Linked DNA regions of Homo sapiens: regions 1 and 2 are each linked to region 3. The links are contacts of gene promoters, found by promoter capture Hi-C in human tissues and cell types (Jung and others, 2019). All regions are on one chromosome and are shown on one strand. The core of a region is centred on a gene start or on the middle of the fragment in contact, and the rest is flanking DNA. Distances in the headings are between cores, read along the strand shown.

The links. Contacts are between HindIII fragments. The study calls those that stand out against the background at their distance.
Region 1: a contact is called between a fragment that was not itself captured here and the fragment with the promoter of SIDT2 in region 3, in 1 of the 25 tissues and cell types used here (liver).
Region 2: a fragment that was not itself captured here is called in contact with the fragment with the promoter of SIDT2 in region 3 in 1 of the 25 tissues and cell types used here (liver).

What each region holds. Positions count from the first base shown.
Region 1 is chr11:117,123,464-117,126,163 of GRCh38, forward strand. It overlaps the pseudogene LOC101060089. Among named protein-coding and RNA genes, the nearest start is that of PAFAH1B2, 19 kb to the right of the region's middle. The HindIII fragment of the contact is 5,925 bases long and covers 1-2,700 here.
Region 2 is chr11:117,239,999-117,242,698 of GRCh38, forward strand. All of the region lies in intron 4 of RNF214 (ring finger protein 214), which reads left to right. Among named protein-coding and RNA genes, the nearest start is that of RNF214, 8.7 kb to the left of the region's middle. The HindIII fragment of the contact is 3,395 bases long and covers 1-2,700 here.
Region 3 is chr11:117,177,345-117,180,044 of GRCh38, forward strand. It overlaps SIDT2 (SID1 transmembrane family member 2), which reads left to right and starts at 1,399. Exons shown (of 26, transcript NM_001040455.2): 1 at 1,399-2,102. The coding sequence starts at 1,920. It also overlaps a transcript of PAFAH1B2 not described here. RefSeq lists a silencer at 1,498-1,707 and an enhancer at 2,688-2,700. The HindIII fragment of the contact is 11,732 bases long and covers 1,067-2,700 here.

The sequences.
Region 1 (2,700 bases), core at 68-2,567, 54 kb before region 3:
TCTGAGAATATGAAATATACGACCAAAACTTAGGAAGACAGACAGACTGAATACATGAATTGGTGGCTGATAAGGAGGGATGTTAGGTAGCTAAGAGACTGAAAGCAAGAGAGGAGGAACCCAGGATGTCAATTAAAAACAATAAAATCATGGCCGGGCGCGGTAGCTCACACTTGTAACCCCAGCAGTTTGGGGGGCAGAGGCAGGTGGATCACCTGAGGTCAGGAGTTCAAGACCAGCCTGGCCAACATGGTGAAATCCTGTCTCTACTAAAAAATACAAAAAAAATTAGCTGGGTGTGGTGGTGTGTCTGTAATCCCAGCTACTTGAGAGGCTGAGGCAGGAGAATTGCCTGAACCCAAGAGGTGGAGGTTGCAGTGAGCCGAGATGGCAGCACTGCACTGCAGCCTGGTGACACAGTGAGACTCCATCTCAAATAATAATAATAATAATGAGGATGATAATAAATAAAAATAATAAAACCAGAACATTTTATACCTGAAAAGGTTCTGGATCATGTTTTGCAATCCCTTTACGTTGCAGATGAGAAAACAGCCTCAGAGAGATGAAACTACCAGTCTGAAGGCTGCAGATATTAAAGGACTTCTCTGAGCTCACACAAAAAAGAGCAGAGTTGGAATCTGAAGTTATATCAGCTAACTTTCTCTTTATGAATTCAGCACTCTTACCTTTATACTGTTTCCTTCCAGAAGGAAGTGGGAAAAAAATGCCTAGAAACCAGATGATCAAAGCAGCAACAAGGAATCCTCTCCTTTTTTTGACTATGACAGGCTAAAGATCTGGGAGTCAAGGCAAAAAAAAGAAGGGGCAACAAGGCCTTAGTCAGCTGAGGTGGCCAAAACAAAATACAACAGACGGGGGGACTTAAACAACAGGAATTTATTTCTCACAGTTCTGGAAGCTGGGATGTCCAAGGTCATGGTTCTGGCCAATTCAGTTACCTGGTGAGGGCCTTCTTGCTGACTTGCAGATGGCCCTCAACAGGCATCTTGCTGTATCTTCACATGGCAGAGAAAAAGAGCTCTTGTTTCTCCTCTTCTTCTTATAAGGACACTAATCACATCATAAAGGCCCCACTCTCAAGACCTCATCTAAACCTAAGTACCTCTCCAAGAAAAGCCCCATCTCCTTATACCATTACATTGAGGGTTAAGGCTTCAATATATGAATTTTGGGTGGCATGGGATGTCACAAATATTTAGACCATAAGACAATCTCAGGTACAAGCAGGAAAAGGCACCACATACAAGAGGGCAAGTTGAAAAAGGAAAGAATGAGGATGAAATAAAAATGAATTGGCTGGGCGCAGTGGCTTATGCCTGTAATCCCAGCACTTTGGGAGGCCACGGCAGGTGGATCACCTGAGGTCAGGAGTTCGAGAGCAGCCTGGCCAAAATGGCAAAACCCCGTCTCCACTAAAAATATAAAAATTGGCTGGGCATGGTGGTGGGCACCTATAATCCCAGCTACTGGGGAGGCTGAGGCAGGAGAATTGTTGAACCCAGGAGGTAGAGGTTGCAATGAGCAGAGATCATGCCATTGCTCTCCAGCCTGGGCAGCAGAGTGAGACTCCGTCTTAAAAAAAAAAAAAAGAAAAGAAATAAAAATGAATTGTTCTCAGTCGTCTTTCACATTTCCTGCTGAGATCTGGGAGATGAGGAGGGAAGAGAGGGAAGGTAGCAGCTAGCTTTAGAGTATAAGCATTATAGCTGGTTCCTGAAGCTGACAGCAGTGGAGTAATGGAAAGAGACCTGAACATTGAGTGAGTTAATGGTGATTCAAGGCTCAGCTCCGCAACCAAGTGGTTGGTGACCTTGGACAGCTTGAATGATCTCATCTGCAAGGTGAAGATAATAATAACCTAACTAATAAAGTTGTTATAAAAACTAAATGAGACAATACTTACAAAAGTACTTTTTAAATTATAAAGGGTTACTTAGGTTTGTTTTGCTTCACGGTAGGATAGTTCTGGGGCTACACTAATGTTACAGATATAAAAGAAGTGGAAAACATGGCCTCGGATCTCAAGTGTCTTATGATCCTATAGGATAAATAAAGTTTACAAACATGAAAAACCTTTAAGATAGCACATGGCTGCACAGGGTTGGATCAGAGCTCTCATCTTGTCTGTTGAAGATGACTCAGGTATGGCTAGGTGTGTCTGGCTAGCTGGTGGGATGGGTCTAAGGAAGTTTATTGGCAGGAAGGCTGGGCACTTCATTTGAGAGTCTTCCTTCTAGAGAAATAAGGAGCCAAGCATGATAGCCTTTTTCAAGAGCCAGTGCCTTGGTCATCAGAATGAGGTGTGGTCATTGTTACTCAAACGCAACTCTAGTTCGACCCCTTAGCTGAAAATCCAGGGCACGTGGAAAAGACAAGTCTCGTCTAGACATTGAAAGAGCTGTTTCTTGGATCAGGTGCTGTGGCTCACGCCTGTAATCCCAGCACTTTGGGAGGCCAAGGCAGGCGGATCTCTTGATATCAGTAGTTCAAGACCAGCCTGGCCAACACGGTGAAACATCATCTCTACTAAAAATACAAAAATTAGCTGGGCATGGTGGCATGCGCCTGTAGTCCCAGCTACTTGGGACGCTGAGGCACGAGAATCACTTGAACCCGGGAGGTGGAGGTTGCAGTGAGCAGAGATCACGCCACTGCACTCCAGCCTGGGCAACAGAT
Region 2 (2,700 bases), core at 1-2,500, 63 kb after region 3:
ACTTCCAAAGATGGGAAGCTTACTACCTCACAAAGCAACCAGTTACGTTTAAAAAAAAAAATAGCTCTTATTGGCCAGGCACAGTGGCTCACACCCATAATCCTAACATTTTGGGAAGCCGAAGTGGGTGGATCGCTTGAGCCCTGGAGTTTGAGACCAGCCTGGGCAACACAGTGAAACACCATGTCTACAAAAAATACAAAAATTAGCCAGGTGTGGTGGTGCATGCCTATAGTCCTAGCTACTCAGGAGTCCTAGCTACTCAGGAGACAGGTGGGAGGATCACCTGTTCACCTGAGCCAAGGAGGTCGAGGCTGTGTGAGCCGTGATTGTGCGATTGTACTGCAGCCTGGGTGACAGAGTGAGACCCTGTCTCAAAAAAAATTAAAAAAAAAAAAAAAAAAAAAGGCCGGGCACAGTGGCTCACGCCTGTAATCCCAGCACTTTGGGAGGCCAAGGCAGGTGGATCACCTGAGGTTGAGAGTTTGAGACCAAGCTGGCCAACGTGGTGAAACCCCATCTCTACTAAAAATACAAAAATTAGCCGGGCGTGGTGGTGTGTGCCTGTAATCCCAGCTACTCGGGAGGCTGAGGCAGGAGAATGGCTTGAACCCAGGAGGCAGAGGTTGCAGTGAGCCAAGATTGCACCACTGCACCCCAGCCTGGACAACAGAGAAGCTCCATCTCAAAAAACAAAAATGAAACCTCTTATTAGATTTTGTTCTGAGATGAAGATAAAAACCTTATAACTTCTTGCTTCAGGCCGGGCGCGGTGACTCACGCCTGTAATCCTAGCACTTTCAGAGGCTGAGGCGGGTGGATCACCTGAGGTCAGGAGTTTGAGACCAGCCTGACTAACATGGTGAAACCTCGTCCCTACTAAAAATACAAAAATTTAGACCAGCCACGGTGGCTCACGTCTGTAATCCTAGCGCTTTGGGAGGCTGAGGCAGGCAGATTGCCTGAGCGCAGGAGTTCGAGACCAGCCTGGGCAACATGGCGAAACCCCATCTCTACTAAAAATACAAAAAATTAGCCAGGTGTGGTGGCGTGTGCCTGTAATCCCAGCTACTTGGGTGGCTGAGGCATGAGATTAGCTTGAACCTGGGAGGCAGAGATTGCAGTGACCCGAGATCGTACCACTGCACTCCAGCCTGGGTGACAGAGTGAGACTCTCTCAAAAACAAACAAACAACAACAAAAAAACAAAAATTAGCCTGTAATCCCAGCTACTTGGGAGGTTGAGGTAGAAGAATTGCTTGAACCCAGGAGGCTGAGGTGGCAGTGAGCTTCTTGCTTTAGGCCGGGCACAGTGGCTCATGCTTGTAATCCTAGCACTTTGGGAGGCCGAGGCGGGTAGATCACGAGGTCAAGAGATTGAGCCCATCCTGGCCAATATGGTGAAACCCCATCTCTACTAAAAATACAAAAATTAGCTGGGTGTGGTGGCGCATGCCTCTAGTCCTAGCTACTCAGGAGGGTGAGGCAGGAGAATTGCTTGAACCCGGGAGGTAGAGGTTGCAGTAAGCTGAGATTGCACCACTGCACTCCAGCCTGGTGACAGAGTGAGAATCTGTCTCAAAAAAAAAAAAAAAAAGTTCTTATTGTAGCTTTCTCTTGAGCTTTATGGAATAAATCCAGTTCCTTTCCTGCTTGTTAGCCATGTGTATATTTGAAGTTTTTTTATGCCTCCTGCTCTTATTCTCTTACTCCCCAAGTTCAAACCTTTCCAGGTGAAACATCCTCAGATGTTTTTAGTATTCTTTTTGATACTATTTTGATACTATTTTCCATTTCTTTATCATCATTCTGGTTACTTTCACTTAGACATGTTCTATTTTATCAATATTTGTTTTAAAAAGTGATCTTGAGAACCATATATAATAGTACAGATACAGTATAATTACTTTATAATACAGTGGGATCTCTCAGTATCTCTCATTCTAGACACTATTTCTTAAGCTTACATTGACTTATTTTGGCAGTTTTTTCATACTGTTAAGCTTTTAGTCAAATTCCATCCAGTCTTTTTTTCATGTATTATTTACTTGTGTCTTTTTAATTTTATCCCCAGATAGTTGGCTTTTGAAGAGAACGTCACACTTACCTTTGTTAAAATGCTCCCTTTGATCCATCCCTGGCCTTTTGTGGCTAAAACTTCCACCTTTAAGTATATGGATATCTAAATGTACACTTTTTAAAGGGAAGGTAATGCTGGGAAAGGCACCCCAGGAAGAGGTCTTTAGGGTAAGATATGTTAATTTATAAAGAGTGGTATAAAAAGGGAAAGTGCTTGTAGCAACCAGATAAGAGAGTGGATATTTGGTGCAAGTTGAAGAAATTGAAGGGCATACGGAAAAAAGTTACTGGTGTACATTAACCAGATGAAGCCAAGAAAAGTTTTAAAATAGAGACTAGCAACTTGGGACTTAATTGTAACAGTCAAGTAGATGAAACAGGAACGAATGGAAACCCAGCAAGTTACTGGGCCAGAAGAGGCCCAGGGTTGAGTTTTGTTTGGCTCTATCTTTTGGGTGGTAGTGAGGTCCACATGCTTTTAAAAAGGCAGTGAGGCCGGGTGCAGTGGCTCACACCTGTAATCTCAGCACTTTGAGAGGCCAAGGCAGGGGTATCACCTGAAGTCAGGAGTTCAAGACCAGCCTGGCCAACATGGCAAAACCCCATCTCTCCTAAAAATAC
Region 3 (2,700 bases), core at 149-2,648:
ATTTTTAGAATTAAAGGAAAATGATATACAATATGTGTTATTTTTAAAATTGTAATTCAAAGATAACTACTGCTAAATTTTATTTTTAAAATTTGCCCTGCTTTCTGGAGACATTGCTAAATGTTTAGTACAATTTTTTTCTATTTTTCTATGCATGTCTATATGCATTTGGAATATATACGGTTTTATTTACTTATTTATTTTTGAGACAGAGTCTTGCTCTGTTGCAGCCCAGGCTGGAGTGCAGGAGCATGATCTCAGCTCACTGCAACCTCCGCCTGGTAGAGTTAAGCGATTCTCCTGCTTCAGCCTCCCCAGTAGCTGGGATTACAGGCACGCGTCACCACGCCCCACTAATTTTGTATTTTTATAGTAGAGATGGGGTTCACCATGTTGGCCATGGCTGGTCTCGAACTCCTGACCTCAAGTGATCTACCTGTCTTGGCCTCCCAAAGTGTTGGGATTACACGTGTGAGCCACGGCACCTGGCTCTATATACTGTTTATTTAGTGTCATATCCTGAATTCTCTGCTTACGTGTCCTGTGAAGTCTTAAGCATCATTTTTGATGCCTTCATGATAGTGCATTTAACCAATCCCTCATTATGGATATCCAAGTCATTTCCTTTTTGCTTTATATTATAAATATCACAGTGATAAGCGTAGCTGCCCAGGTATTTTTATCTGTGCTTCCTATTTCCTTAGGATAGAGTCCAGAAGTGGAATTACTGGATCAAAGGGTATAAAGCTCTCTAAGTTTCTTGAAACAGTGCCAAAATATTTTGTAGAAAAGTTTTCACCAATTTACACTGAAGGTCAGTATCTTTCAATGAGTTTTGTAACTGTCTCTGAGAGAAGAGGGGAAACAGCCCGGCAAGCTTGGAAAGCTCGGAAGGCCGTCCCTGCAGTTGTGTGGCCCCTCTAGAGGGAGGTGGGAAAGGCATGGGGATTCCTCCTGCAGTGCTGCCTCCGTTTCCCCTCCGCCGGTAGGGCCACCGTCCTGTTTCCTAATCCTTCGAGTTTTTCATTTTTTAAGATCCCCGGAGAAAAAGTGGCCCAGGGTTGGACGATGTTAGTTGTAAAGGTGGTGGTGGGGGTGGGGGAATCCTTATGTTTGAGCAAATGTAAGAGTTGTTCAGCAAGAACCCAACACTTGGAGATTGTTAACAGAAACATCTGCCTATTCCAACGTGAGTTTCAGAGATGGTGAAAATCACGGGAGAGAGTTGGGTAGGAGTTGGAGAAGGCATTGCAAGCTTTCCCCTTCAGCTAGACAGCTGCAGCCCCTTTAAGGGCAAATGCGGGACCTGGTCCTTTAAATCTGTGTCAGTTTCCCCTGACGTCAGCGGGCGGGCCAGCAGCCCTGCTGTTTATCGCCCAGCGGCGCAGCTCACTTTTCAGTGTTCGTGCGTCGGGACGGCGCGTCCGCCCGCCCTTAAAGGGCCCGCACCTCGGAAAACTCGCAGCCCAGCACGGCGTCGGGTAGCTACCACCTATCACGCCCCTCACTCTGCGACTCGCCTTCCTCCGCGGCCAGCCCCCGCCGCCGGCTCTTCCTCCCTCCCCTTTCCCGGCGTCTCCAGGCTCCCGGCAACCAGCCGCCCTCCTTCTCACGGCCCTGGCCCGGGGCTCCAGGGTCTCAGGTCGTACTCAGCCCCTCGCGAGCTGGGACCCCTTCCCGTAGCCAGCATCCCCTCCCTCCCCGCCCCCTCCCGGCCGCCCCCTCCCCTGCGGGGACCCTGGGAGCCTCTTCGGGGCTCTTGGGAGGGGACATTTCCTAATCTCAGGCCGGGGTTAAAGTTCTGGTCCTGGTGAGATGCTGGAAGCTGCGGCCGCAGCCGCAACCCGTCCCGGAGGTGTCCTGTCTCCTGTCGCCGCCGCCGCCGCCACCACCGCTGCCACTGCCGCCCTGCCGGGGCCATGTTCGCTCTGGGCTTGCCCTTCTTGGTGCTCTTGGTGGCCTCGGTCGAGAGCCATCTGGGGGTTCTGGGGCCCAAGAACGTCTCGCAGAAAGACGCCGAGTTTGAGCGCACCTACGTGGACGAGGTCAACAGCGAGCTGGTCAACATCTACACCTTCAACCATACTGTGACCCGCAACAGGGTGAGGGCTGGGGGCTTAGGGGCCAGAGGCGAGTGGGGAAGCCGACGAGGGCTAGGCGATTCTGCCGCCCCGCTACCCTTTTGGGAGGCCCCAGGAACGAGCTGTCCTGCTAGGTTCCCAGTTCCCAGAACCACACTGGAGCCTCTTGACCAGTCCTCCTTCCTTTGCCACCAATGTTTCTCTGAAGCTCCAGCTGGGCAGTTTTTGAAGTTGGCTCATTCCCATCTTCTCTTCCGCCCCCATTCTTCCATCAGTTGTGGTCTGAGCACACATGGCTTGCTCTCTACCCTAAACCCCAGAATCTGACAGCTCTGTGGGGTCTCGGTGGGAGAGGAAACAGGCTTATTACTGGGCTTGCCCAGAAAACCTCAGGGGAATGAGACTGGCCCAGAACTGAAAAGCTCTGTGCAGGCAAGTTACATCTCAGACTCCCCAGGGAGATGAATGCAGGGCTTCCCAGCCCTCTTCCTGCCTGGGAGAGCCAGCTGGCCTTGTAAATTGAGGGTGACAGAGGTTTTATAAGGCCAACTGCAAGTTGGGTGGGAAGAGAAGGGGAATTTGTCCACTGTGAAAAATCCACTTCACCCTGACTTCTCTT